Linked DNA regions of Homo sapiens: region 2 is linked to region 1. The links are contacts of gene promoters, found by promoter capture Hi-C in blood cells and fetal thymus (Javierre and others, 2016). All regions are on one chromosome and are shown on one strand. Each heading gives the region's core, a stretch centred on a gene start or on the middle of the fragment in contact. The rest is flanking DNA. Distances are from core to core; before and after follow the strand shown.

Region 1 (7,231 bases), core at 2,467-4,966:
GAAAAGGGAGGCCCAACGAGAGAGAGATAGGGAAACAGCCTGTTGGTGGAGAAGTCAGAATACACAACAACATTCATTAATTTAGTTTGCTATTTTATATGGGCACAGTATGTGGTGCCCCAAAATAATTACAACAGTAACATCAAAGATCACAGATCACAGATCACCATAACAGATAGAATAATAGTGACAACATTTGAAAAATTATGAAAATTACCAAAATGTGATAGAGACATGAAGTGAGCACTTCATGTGGGAAAAATTATGTTGATAGACTTGCTCAATGCCAAGTTGTCACAAGCCTTAAATTTGTTAAACAAACAAACAAACAAAAATATGTGTAAAGCACAGTAAAATGAGGTGTACCTATAAACTTGGTGGGTGGGTGTCAAGGGAAGGGGAGGATAGAAAGAAGCCCAAAATAAATTTTGTCTCATCCAAATCTTGGTCAAGTGTGACACCTAGAGGTTGCACAAATAGAATTCCTTTGGGTATTTTTTATTTTTTAGGATGCAAAATGCATTTATGTGGAGAATTATTTTTAAGTTTTTATTTCAAAATGGACATCTTTAGATATTTCCATATGTAATACTATCAATAAATAACTATATTTCTTCACTTTTTTATAATTATAAAACTGTTGATGTTAAAAGTTGTTTCCCTTTCCATCAAGGAACTGAATATTTCATAATTGTTTTAAAATATTGATACTAATGACTAAAAGTCATTGTCATGAGTCTCATGAGTTGTAATATATATTTATATGTTTATGTTCTAATAAAAGAGAAAACAGATGTGTATAGGTATGTTCACATCCTTACCTCTGGAGTTTAGAAATGATAGCAAAATTAATAGAGGCAGAATAAAGACACCTATCACATGAGAGGTGATAAGTTTAGAATTTTTTCATTTCTAAATATTAAAAAAATATGCTTTGCATTTGTCATTCATTGGTTTGGAGAACTTTTATCGCACTGGCTCATTAATATTTGAACAGTTCTCCATGAAAAATGACGAACGATTTACTTCATGGCAGGCTGTACAGATGGTCAATTTAATCTGCATCCTTGAGACTTCTCATGACTAAATTTTGACATCATGTCATTAAACATTTGTGTATTATTATTTATGTCATATTCTAGGAAACAAATATTGCTATGTCTTGCTATCTCTTGCCATCTATCAGTTTTATTGATAGGATTTATCTACCTAGACACTATACCTTTCACAAAGGAACACATATCAGGATATATACATCACTTTTGTCTCCTCAGAGACCCATACATTTTTGTCCTCAAGTGCAATAATGACATTGTTATGAACAAATGTGTGGCAGGTGTGGAGACAAATGTTTATATGACTTGGATTCTCTAACCTTGTTCAGAGATATCTTTGCTGATGATTGTGTGTGTTTGTGTATGTGCATGTGTGTGTGTGACTCCTAGGCCTTGTGTACGTTGAAATTGAAAGAAGGAAACCAAATGTTGGCTATTTTGAAACAGTACTGCAGAACATATCACCATAATTGTGTATTGTAAATGGCAGCAAATTGGAACCTAGAAATTGACCCCGTATAATGCTTGAATTTGTAGCTATGATGTTTACACTCTTGACAAGTTGAGTTATTATTATACCACCATGGGTAAATATAAAGGTCAGAATCTTAAAATTTCTTTTGACAATAAGCTATTAAGTATAGTGTCGGATGGCTTTTTGAAGGGCTAGGTAAATGACCTTGCACATTAACTTAATTCCTCAGACTCTCTGTCCTCTGTTATATAATGAATTCCCACTTGGTGAATTGATTGGCGCTTCCCACGAATGCGTAGAATGGCTGCTGTTAGCAGAGTATGTCCAGTTTGAAATACTTCCTGTGCCAGAGTTAGAGGATTTCAAGGTTTAGGGCACTAACAGTAGCTGAGAAATACAAGCAGAAAGGATGGGAAAATGATTCCTTGTGGAGTGGACATGGAAATTTTCCTGAAACGACAGAACCCAGGAAGCAATAGCAGGTCCCATTTCCTTCTGTGGTGTAACTGTCAAAAGAAGTGATCCTTCAGGGAACCATACATTAGTTAAGATCAGGCTTCCTTTTTATTCCTTATCAACCTATAATCTTTTGATTGTTGCCTGTTTTTCACGAGTGAAGAAATAGTAAGCCACACTAGCTTATCTCTCCTAATCACAGACTCACAGCGCTCGGGCTCTCTGAGCTTTTAATTCCTTCTTAGAGGCCTAACAGAGCGGAAAGTAAACAAAGACCAAATTTGCAACCTTCAACGTAGCTAATTTCCTCTGATGTCAGAATACTTAAACAGGCAGGACCTGGGAATTATTTGATCAAACCCGCTTTTAATCTAATGCATGCAGAGGGGCTGTGTCTGGAAGGCTTTGCAAAATGACAAGGGTCCCAAGGGAGCCTTATGGAAGGTTTCCTCTTTCAGAAAGAGTAGCTTCCTCATCTTAAACTCTAGGGTAGCTATGTTGGAGTAAATTCATAAAAAGTAGTTTTCCTGCTTTTAAAATTTTATTTTATTTGGCTGAAAATTGCTGATGGGATAGTAGTTTTCTTTGGCTTTCCGTTTGCTGAATTTTTAATGGTTAAATGCCTACTATTTTAGCTTTACTGTGAAATGAATTAATAATAAAATATATTATTATTAGCTAAAGGGAGAAGGAGAAAGGGGAAAGCATTATCCGACTTCACACACATTCTTCTATTACTACTGGTAGAAGAAAGTGAAAACACAAAGGACAAAAGATGCAAACACATGTGGTTCCTTATTTAGATTGCGACAGGCATTTTGCTACAGTAAGAGTTAAGAAAAATCGGTGTCAGGGAAATTTTAAATGAAGAATTTACTAATTCCAAGATATCCAGACAGCATTACTGACTCAGTTTGACTCACAACTATCTGAATACTTAGAAGTAGCATATTTTTGAGGGAAAGAAGTAGATGAAGGGACAGAACTCTATACCTGAAATATAATTTTAATTTTAAGGGTTTTTTTTTTGTACAATTGTATTTATGTAATTAGGTAGCATTGCAAATACTCATTAACACTAATTCAGTTTTAAAGGCTATTAAAAGACAATTTAATTTGTCACAGAGCATCAATATTGCTCATATTTTTATTGATAATAGATTAAGTTAAAAACAACATTTAAAGAAGGGTTTAAGTGCATTTTGACAAGTCAACATTTCTGCTCTCGTGTTTTCACACCTGATCTCAAATACTGCTCCCCACACAAAGTAATTCAGAAGCCATGGCTTAAAAATAGATAATAAACACTGATGCTTTGTGTAAATACGTACTAAGAATAGCATGCCACTAGATCTAGCATTTGACTCCTTGGATGACAGTGAATATCAATGCCTGTTATTTGTCATTCTGAAATCTGCCGGGTGATGATTCTTTTTATTGGTGCATCCTTCCAAACATATTTCATCGCACCATGTGCACCGGAGTTCTTTAGGCGGGTATGTCGGAGGTGGGTGTCGCCTGGCTGGCCCCTCTCCCCTTTGCTCGCCCCCTTTCTCGCCCTCGCGCTCTCGCCTCCCTCTGCCTCCAGCCCCCTCTGCTCCTTTGGGCTCACGCCCCCCTCCTCCCCCTCCAGCTGGCGGGGGCTGCGCTGCCTCCCAGACCTAGCAGACCTGCTCAGTCAGCTGGGGCCCCCTGAGGACAGTTGCCTCCGGAGCCGCCGGGACCTGCCATTCTGCGAGGAATGGCAGCGGCAGCAGCATCCCCGCCAGAGGCGGCGGCGGCGGCGGCAGCGGCCACGGCCACCACCGCGGACGCTATTGTTCCCTGGTGTTAGACGCGCTCTCCCTCCTTCTCATCTGAAGCGAACAATAGCAGGAAAGAGCTTTGCTTTCTGTACTCTTTGAAAAGACGTTCCAAGAGCGGAGAAAAATTCCCTGCCGAGCGTGCTACGGCTCTGGACCCTGGAGTGGCTGCAGGCGGCATGGGGCTGCAAGCCAGGCGCTGGGCGTCCGGGAGCCGGGGCGCTGCGGGGCCGCGCCGGGGCGTCCTGCAGCTGCTGCCGCTGCCGCTGCCGCTGCCGCTGCTCCTGCTGCTGCTGCTACGCCCGGGCGCCGGCAGGGCTGCGGCGCAGGGCGAGGCGGAGGCGCCCACCCTCTATCTGTGGAAGACTGGTAAGTGGGACGGAGTTACCCTTTCCCCATCTTCACATCTGGGGCCACATTAAGGAGCTGGTGGGCTTCTGTAGGGACCCCGGTGCTTTTGGATGGCTTGGTTATGCTGGTATCCTAAGGTAAAAAGTATGATTTCTTAGGAAGCAAATAGGTCATGTCCGATGCAATTAGGAAAGAAAAGCATAACAACTAAGAGGCAACAGTGAGTAGCTGGAATATTTCTCTCGCAGCTCTGTAATGAGGGCAACGCGCACTTCCATGATGAAGTGCATTATTTTTAACCCCTGGATTTTCATTCTACTAGGAGTTTCTCAAACAGATTTCTAGCAAAGAACAAGCAAAGAGTTTAGTCTCAGTCTTTATTCTTTAGGCAAAGCAATATGCTCACTGTCATGACATTTGTGGATATAGAGTTGAATTTGTTAACTTTAGCTTTGTGATATGTGGGACACCTCAGAAACAAGCCAAGTGAGGGCGGTTCCAACAATTAAAGGCAAATGGGGCTCCAGTGAGCCTTCAGGGAAAGACTGAAAACTCAATTATTAACTAGCGAGTCGGAGGATTTTTAAAGTGTACAACTTTTAGGATGTCTGGGTTCAAACTTTCTCTTCCTTCCTTGAGAATTGTTTTGCTTTGTTTTTCAACCACCCAACAAAAGCAGCTACTAACTGCCCATCATTACCCATTGGCAAAATGCTTGGAGTTTCTGGCGGGGGCCGTGACAGGCAGGAAAACAATACGGAGTGAGGAATTACCAACCCCTTTTCTGCGGGTTCGCTTTCTCTCTGCATTAAAAAAACATTGAGAATTCCTTAGGGGACCTGAAACTTCACATGTTCATAGGAATAAAATGGGAAAAGATTATTCCTGTTGCTTAGAGCTAGGGGGTAATTTAAGAATAACTTGGTCATGCCAAACATTAAGAGAATGTTGTAGTTGAAAGGGAAAGTATGTATTCGTCATGGGGTTGCAAACAGGTTTCAGGGAGTGAGTGTCTTTTCCTGCTTCAGCCCATCTCTGCACCACTACTGAAGAGACAGCTCAGTCTACTCTACAATTGCATCACTATCGATATCTGGAATTTTTAAAGAAGTTGCAGCTATCCAGAAATTTAGTGAGGAGATTAAACAGAAATTTATTTAAAGTCAAAGTACACAATTTGTCTTAGAAGATTACATGAAACATATACACATTTTAAAAAGCAAGATTATTCTTGCTAACACCTTAAGTTTGAAGATCAGTTGAGTAATGAATTCAAATGAAATAAAATTAATTTACTTCAATTTGAAACGAAGATTTGAAGATCTCTAATTTAGCGTAAGCTAGGGTTTTACTTGTTAAAAGCACATTCATAATGACAAACATTAATCAAATTATAATTTACCATTAAATGGTATCATATGGATGCTTGGGGAGAGCTTCTTAGGTAAGTCAGTGTAGGATGAAATAGTAGTTGCCTAGTTGAAATTTATACTAGCAAAGTAACAAGAGCCAAGCAATAATTCAGATGGAAAAGAGCCCAGCCAACATTCACTGTACAGCATCTGAGGTGTCAATATATGTCATCATAAATGTCATGGTAGGAACACAAGCCAATAAACAGTTTAAAATAGTGGGAAGCTCTCAGAAACAATGATATGGAGACCTTGATTCCAGTGCCAGTCCTAGCTCTTGCTAGCTGTAGGAATTTTGGCAGTTCACTTAAATTTTGACCCTTAGTTTTCTCAACTGCATGTAAATGTGATGACACCTTCTTCTGCCTATCTGCAGTGTGTGAAAATCACATGAGTTATGAGAAAGTGATTGGTAAACTTCAAAGCTGTATGCAAATGTAAGCTAGTGTGATGAGGATGTTAAAGATATTTCTTGACTGGTGATCCTTGGTTTGGTAAAAAAAAAAAATAGTTCATTCAATTGGAAAGCAAAATAATGACTTCTTTATTTTTTTTTTTTTACCAAAGGGAAAGGAGACTTTAATATATCTGTAAAGGAGTTGAACGTAGTTCTCAAAAGAACTAGAGAATATTTAAAGAAAAAAGATATACCATAAATGAAAATTTAGAAGTTACAGAATCACTATGTGTGTATCACTTGATGAAAATAAAGAGGCAAGAAGGGAATTGGAAGAGAAAAGAGGTGACATACTCCAAAATATCTGTTCCAATGGGGTAAGCTTGGTCTTGGTACAGAGGATTATAGAGAATCATATTAATGGTGAGATTATTGAATTAAAATGATGTAGTGAAAGTTGTTACACTGGATGAAGATCTGGGACAGGAACTCAAACTGTGTATGTTACTAACATGCTGTAGAACTTTGGTAAAGTCATTAATGACTTTGGTTCTTGGCTTCCTATTTTGTAATACTCATTAAATAGATAAAATGATATCTAAGGGCCTTTTTAACCCCTAAAGGGCTTCATATATATGAATGCATATGTCAGATACATATATTATAAATACACACATAAATACATATATACAACAAATAAGGGTATATAAAGTTGACCCTTGAACAATGCACAGATTAGGGGTCCTGACCTACATGCACAGTGGAAAATTTATGTATAACTTTTGACTTCCCCAAAACTTAACTACTAATAGCCAACTATTGATCAGAAGCCTTACAGATAACATGAACAGTCAATTAATACATATTTTATATATGTATTATATACTATATTGTTACAATAAAGTAAGCTAGAGACAAGGAAATGACATTTGGAAAATCACGAGGAAGAGACAATATATTTACTATTCATTAAATGGAACTGGATCATCATAAAGGTCTTTATCTTCATCGTCTTCACATTGAATAGGCTGAGGAGGAAGAGGAAGATAGATAAGGGGTTGGTTTTGTTGTTTGAGCAGTGGCAGAGGTGGAAGAAAATGCATGTAAGTTGAACTGCCCAAATCAAATCATGTTGTTCAAGAGCCAACTGTACACATGTGTGTATACATATAATATATACATGAATAATACTTATTACTTATACATTATATGTAATGTTAAATATCTATCTATCTATCTATCTATGTGCTTTATTAAGTCAACTCACAACAAAGAGTTTTTGA
Region 2 (7,231 bases), core at 3,243-5,742, 260 kb after region 1:
AGTTTAGACTGACCCTTCACAAGGCTGACATAGGGTGACTTGTATGGATCTGTCAGTTTGGGGCTGTCTAATCCCTGAGAGTGCACTACACCATGGTCCGTCCTTAATAACGAACCTGTACCCTTATTCCTCAGGTGAATTTTTTTTCTCTAAAGCATATATCCTCAAAATATAGTTTAAGAATCACCTGCATGCTTTAAGAAAATGCAGACATTCCTAGATATTACCCACTGGGGCTGTAATTCTGTAGGTCCTGAATGAGGCAGGAATCTGTTTTTTATAAGGATTGTCATTGATTATAATCAAGAGTTGATTTTACCATGCAGCTAATGAGAGTCTTTTGGGACCCAAAGCTTATGCGATTTAGAGAACCCTAAATGTTATTTTAAAAAAAACAGCCAGATTTCAAAATTCCAAATTCAAAATCACTCACTAACATCTCTGCCAGGGCCTTAGAAGGGCCCAAACCTTAAGCTTCATGGGCTTCTCAATAAATCTACCCCTAATTCTAACATAGATTTTTGTCCTCTATTACAGCCAGTGAGAATGACTACTTTAAGATGAGAAACAGAAACACATGCATTGTTTCTTGAAAAGCCTTGTTTTCCCCATAGTTCTAGAGGTACGACTGGGAAGAATGGAATGACTAGAAAAAGTCACTATATATTTTCCAAAGTGAACTGGACCTTTCAGTAATGATATTAGTCTTTTCTACATTCTTTGACCCCCCAGTTTTAGATCCCTGAGCTCTAAATCTTTAGAAACTCACAATACTTTGCTAGTATTTAAGCTGGGAAATTAGGGAAGGATAGATACTGTTTCATCTTACTTCATACCTGTAACCTGAGATGGAAAGAAGACATAGCAGTTAATACAGACCTTCCATTAATGAAAGAAAGATGGTGGATAAAATGTCATCTAACCTGACACTATCAAGGGACTATAGTATCCGTGCTTTTTGTAACCCTTAAGCACTTATTTCATCGAGTTCGTTGTAGATGAATGATAGCGCCAGGAGGAATTTTGAAATGAGCACTCAGGGATGTGCACTGGTGAATGAGTAGCATTTTTTCAGAGGCACACTCCTGCTATCTAAAGATGTAAAAGAAATGGTTTGTGGCTAGGGCTGGTTGTTCCCTGCCTTGCTGATGATTGCTCAATAGGGAGTAGCTACTCTCTCCAGTGTTAACAGAGGAGTGCAAACTACATTGTAGAACTCATTAATATTTATTCCTTCTAAAAGCAATGGGCAATAAAAAGGGAAATAAACCAAGGAGAATAGCAATGGGAAAAGAAAACTGTAACAACAGATTCATCTTGGAAAGGTCTCATCATTTATTGCACACAAAAATATGCTCAAAATACAAGGATACAGCTCATATTCTAAGTTTGAAATCCACTAAAATTGCCTCTTATTGGGGAAATTAATTTAAGAAAAAAATGCACATTGAATGCAATTCAAGAACTCAAAGTAGTAATCTATATTCTTGTAATTATATGCACTGGTTGTACCTCTTCACAATTTTACATTTTCTGTATTTGACAAAGTTACATGTCCTCAGTGTCGGAAGCTGTTTTGTATTTGTGGATGCACAAGAACTCTCTCTAAGCTAAGCATCACCTATCCATTGAAGCAAAACCAGTGCTATTTCAGTTCCTTTTCTTTTGCTTTTCCTCTATTTTCTGCCTTGTAATGCCTTCAACCATTGTCCCAATTATCCAAATATCTCCTCTTTTAAAGAATATTTTTCAAATTACAAGACCTTAATCATCTTCCTTTATCCAAAGCCTGTATAGCCCTTTTCTGCTATATTTCTTGATTTGCCATTTGATTTCATATGATTATATTCTATTCATGCCAACTTCCCAAGATTTTAAGCTTCTGAGAGAGGGCATAGTGTTTTATCCTTCCCTAAACTTCTTTAGTACAACCTATCATTCTTAGCAGAGGTCTGGGTACATTTACCAATTGTATTCTTTGGAAATATCTTTTAAAAAGACAGAGAAATGCCTTCAGTCAGAGGATGTTGACTTCCTGGACATTTAATTTATAAGGTTTCATTTTGAATTAACCTATCTTTTGCACTAATTCATTCTATATCTCTTATGCTTTTCTTTCCTTTTTAAAGGCTTAATGAGATGACATATGTAACATATGTAAATCATTTCCTAGCATAAGGCCTTGCATTTATTATATGCCAAATGAATATTAATTGCTTTTGTTTACGTGTTTACTTTTCTGGTTGAATTGAGAAAAGGGAATTTTTTAAATAACAGTTTCGCTCCAAATCCTTAGCATGCAATAAAGGCTAATTGTATACTAGCTTGCTAGTTGAGAAACATAATGGAGAGCAAATAATACTGTCTCTTTACAGTATGTGTTAAAATCCTGCCATGGGCTAACATTATATACAAAATTGTCCCTTTCTTGGGAAAAAAATAGACCTTTTCTAAAGCTTTCATTGTATTATTTTAGAATAAGAATAAATACAGTTAATTTTACTTCTATAGTTATGGTAGTCAGAATAATTACAGCTTCCTTTCCTTTGTGATTCAGAAGCCTTGCGAATTTTAAGTAGTAGTCCATTGCTGAAGAATTCTGACAAAGATGCTTGTAGTAACCCTCGGATTGTTAGGTTACTCTAAAACAGCACTTTCACCATTGCTCAAACTTGGAATGCCACGCTGTTCCATCTGCCCCTTATATCCCACAGGATTTCTGGGGATCTAAAATGCCCAGATAGGGAGCTTTATGCCTGGGAAAACTTAGCCCTTGTTGTTAAAATAATAATTATAGCAACTAGATACATAAAAACATAGGGTTTAGAGGCCAGCCATGGTGGCTCACACCTGTAACCCCAGGCCTTTGGGAGGCTGAGGCGGGCAGATCACTTGAAGCCAGGAGTTCAAGATCAGTCTGGTCAACATGGCGAAAATCCATCTCTACTAAAAATACAAAAATTAGCTGGGTGTGGTGGCACATGCCTGTAGTCCCAGATACTCAGGAGACTGAGGCACAAGAATTGCTTGAACCTGGGAGGCAGAGGTTGCAATGAGCCAAGATCACACCACTGCACTCCAGCCTGGGTGACAGAGCAGACTCTGTCTCAAAAAAATAAAAAGTAAATAAAATAGAGTTTAGAAAACACTTCTATTGTTTTATATGTGCTCAGCTAGATCTGTTTAGAAAGTCTTGGATCAATTAAGTTTCTAGTTCATTAAGAATCCCAGAAGTACTGTGAAAATACAGTTATGTTTTTAACTAGGAAAGCTATTGACTTATTTATCAAAGCCTTCTACAAATCTATAACAAGGGGGTAAGAAAAGTCCCCAACATATTGCGGTAGATAGTGTTTTCCCATTAATACATAACTAACCTGATAATTAGAGAATAATTTTCTCAGACATACTGAAACAGTCAGTGGCAAAACATGGACTCAATGCCTTGTTTTTGACTCTAAAGTGTAAACTCATTGCAAGCATACTCGCTTCCCCTATGCATTTGCTTCAGAATAAATGCCCTGGGTATAATAGCTGTCTACAAGTTTATCAAAATCATCAGAAGTGCATCCTATTAGCTGATAATGTTTCTGTTGCAAAAATAAACAAAAATGGCCTAGAAATCTACTTCTTATAAAAGAAAATTGAAGGGAAAAGTATAATGTAAGCCCTTTATAGGAGCCAACGCAATTAAGTTCATTCTGTGACATGATTCTATAAGGTCAATATGGAGTCTTGTTCACAGTTATTTGAACCAGCATTATGTTGAACCATATGATATTGCTATTTTTGTAGGTCAAGATCTGTCAATTAGTGGCAATTTCATACAGTTTAACTGAAAAGGTACCTTTGATGTATTATATCAAGTCACCTGGTATGAATTACTGTCTATCCCACACTTGACATTATCAGAATCAAATCCAGACCGGCTAGCTATGAATCGCAGTGACTCTTTCCATGTGAACAATATGCATTCGTGCTGTGTGCAGTGTCCTCTAGATAGGGCAATGATTGTCTTCTGTAAAAATATGTAGATTTCCCCATAGTAGATATTCTTTATGGGAAAATAACTCAAATTGATGGCTTCAGAGTGACTGGAATTCATCAAGCATTGTTTATGCGCAGTTAGAAAAGAAATTGCTTGCATTCAATGATGTGATTTTGAATATTATGTCCCACTTTATTGTCTATAAATACCGACAATAAAGGGAGATAAAGTAATTTTAAGAATAAATGGATGAGGAGTGTGGGGCAAAGGAAAAATGCTAGTAGAAAGAGGATATCAAACCAATAATGAATATAACAAGGATGATGCACAAAATGTGTATCATAAGATTCTGTGAATTTCTTGAAGTAGGCCACAACTTCTGGCTCTAAGCTTGTAATAGCCAATGTAGAAAGGAACACTGCATTAACCGTGAAATTTGCAGTGCCCATTAGGCAACAGAAACCAGTTGTAAATGAGAAGCACCATGATTTCTGGTTCTAGAGCCAGAAAGAAAATTCACCAGTGGGCCTTCATAAAAAAGACACTGTAACTGTGTTGAATTACAACTTATTAACATCTTTACAATAAACACCATAATGAATTTTATAAGGAAGCTTTTTCTTTAAGCAATTTTCTTATACATAGGCCACTAGTAGAAATATCAAAGTGTAATTCAGTAAAGGGTAATAAGTGGCGGTTGATATGATATGGTACAGATTTATAGGTCTCACTAAGCTGGATAACCCAAGGATAGACTTCGAAATGGATGTACTAAATGAATGGAGGTACAGCTATTCCCTCAGGCAATCCTCCTCTGAGCTTTGATAGAGGCAGAGAGTTCCGTTATATCCCCTGACACAAGTATCTGGAGTACAGCTCTTCTGCTTACTGCTTAGGTGCAGTTCAATGCAGAGACACAATTTCCAACCATCATTGCGGTGAGGATAGGATAAGCATCCTCAAATGGAAATTGAAAGGCTTGACAGGACATAATCTTGAATAAAATATTATCCCACTTCTACAGGGGATCCAGGCCTAACTAGATGCAGGGCAAAGAAAAAGTTTATCTAGGCACTGATAAAGGAAAATCAAAAGTCCTTAAATCTGTTTGCTGGCTTGTAACCCATAGCAAAAATCTGAAGCAGATGTAAGAAAGACCCAGTGTTAACAATAACGCCATCTCTTTAAAAAAGCAATTTTGCTTTCTAGTATTTCCTTCAAGAAAAAAATAATTACCAAGTTTCTGTCTATAGATCAAAATGCGTTAATTTGAAGTAGTAATAATAATGATGCAGAGGATGACGAGGATGATAGATGATTACTATATGTGAGACACTATTCTAAGTGTTTTACATTTATTTACTTATGAGACCCTCACTATAATCCTATGAGGTAAGCACTATTATTATATAATATGGACGTACAAAGAGCTTAAATAATTTTCTTAAGGAATATAGCTAGTAAACGTCATAATCAGGATTGTGAATCAGTCTGGCTCCAGAACCAGTGATCTTAACCACTGTGCTATACAGTATAGGGTTACTACTTGTAAGCCAGTTTTATGCTAGAGAAAAGCTATCTCACCTCTAAACGATTATTGGTTTTAGAAAATGTGCCTCTCTTTTAAATAGTGATTCAGTCTTATAGCTAATGGTCTATTAAGGTTACTCATATTTAATGACAATAAAACTGCACTTCACATGTATGATAATGTTTTTGTTGGCCGGGCGCGGTGGCTCACGCCTGTAATCCCAGCACTTTGGGAGGCCGAGGTGGGCGGATCACGAGGTCAGGAGATCGAGACCATCCTGGCTAACATGGTGAAATCCCATCTCTACTAAAAAAAAAAAAAAAATTAGCCGGGCGTGGTGGTGGGCGCCTGTAGTCCCAGCTACTCGGGAGGCTGAGGCGGCAGAATGGCGTGAACCCGGGAGGTGGAGCTTGCAGTGAGCCGAGATCGTGCCACTGCACTCCAGCCTGGGCGACAGAGCGAAACTCTGTCTCAAAAAAAAAAAAAAAAGTTTTTGTTTCCCTTTTCTATGACAGGAAGGTATCCATACATTTATTCATTGAACCAATGTTTACTGAGTGTCTTCTATGTCTTAGGCATTATTCTAAATGCTGAAAATAGAGAAATGAACAGCACAAACACTATTCCTGCTGTCACAAAGTTTACACTTTAATGGAAGGAGAAAAATTATATACCAAAAAATAAATAAGAAAATATCAAAGAGCAATAAGCACTATGCAGAGAATTAAAACAGGGTTATGTGAAAGAGAATAACTGGGTAATAATGTTATTTAGATCACCAGGTTTTGTTTGGATTCCGAGATTTATATATCTAGCCCAAAATTTTCCCCTGAGAAACAAATTTGCATTGATCTTTCTACGTGACGTCTCTAATCATAACACTCAGGTATGCTTGTTTTTCCTTCATATGCTCTTAAAATGACAAAATACATGTTTTTATAACATCAGAGTACACGTGTCTGAATAGTAGGAGCTCCATGATCTTGAATTGATTGAATAGATGTGTTCATATAAATTTCCTAAAACTACTTAGGGGAAAGATATTAACAGAATAGGTGACACATAATGTGTTCAGTAAATGTTTATTGAATAAGTAAATAAACTGACTCAGTAATAAACCCAAGCGTCAATAAATACGATTACAGACTAATCTGTACTCTTGCAAAATGCCTTTCTCTGATAGCCAGAGAGATGAAAGACCTAAAACTTGTATATTTAGGAATATATCACAAAGCCTAGGAAGTAAATAATTAAAATAATCAGAAAGCAAACATATTGTTAGGCTTCTGCTTCTATCCATAAGAGAATAAATGGAACCCTGCCATAAGAACAACTATAAAATTTAACAAATTATATAAAGCAGCTGTTTTTAGTCATTGGCCAACAAGCCAGAAGACCGTGATTACAGTTGTGAACTGAGCTTCAAAATTGCCTCCATCTGCTACTGGGAGCTCTTTCTTGCCACAGAGGGAGGTGAAGACAAGAATAGTGTCAGGTGTAGCTGAGCAAAGGAGTCAGAAATCTAAGTGCTGGGCTAGGAATTGGCTGGAAATTTTAGGACAAGGTACAGAGAAGGGGAATCTACACTGGAGGGAAAGGACAGAGTCCAAGAGTCTCAGTGTGGATACACCATGAATCCTTGGCCAGAGTTTGGCTGAATACATGTGGGGTGATACCCTGGAGTCTAGCAGAGGTCCTGTGGTGTGAGTTTG

Evidence for each region. Contacts are between HindIII fragments. The CHiCAGO score rates a contact against its expected background, and 5 or more counts as called.
Region 2: a fragment that was not itself captured here is called in contact with the fragment with the promoter of THSD7A in region 1 in 1 of 17 cell types (endothelial precursors); the score reaches 8.3 in endothelial precursors.

The regions. Positions count from the first base shown.
Region 1 is chr7:11,828,683-11,835,913 of GRCh38, reverse strand. It overlaps THSD7A (thrombospondin type 1 domain containing 7A), which reads left to right and starts at 3,716. Exons shown (of 28, transcript NM_015204.3): 1 at 3,716-4,157. The coding sequence starts at 3,968. RefSeq lists enhancers at 3,039-3,578, 3,579-4,119 and a silencer at 5,677-5,971. The HindIII fragment of the contact is 6,451 bases long and covers 1-6,332 here.
Region 2 is chr7:11,573,214-11,580,444 of GRCh38, reverse strand. All of the region lies in intron 4 of THSD7A (thrombospondin type 1 domain containing 7A), which reads left to right. Among named protein-coding and RNA genes, the nearest start is that of THSD7A, 260 kb to the left of the region's middle. The HindIII fragment of the contact is 224 bases long and covers 4,381-4,604 here.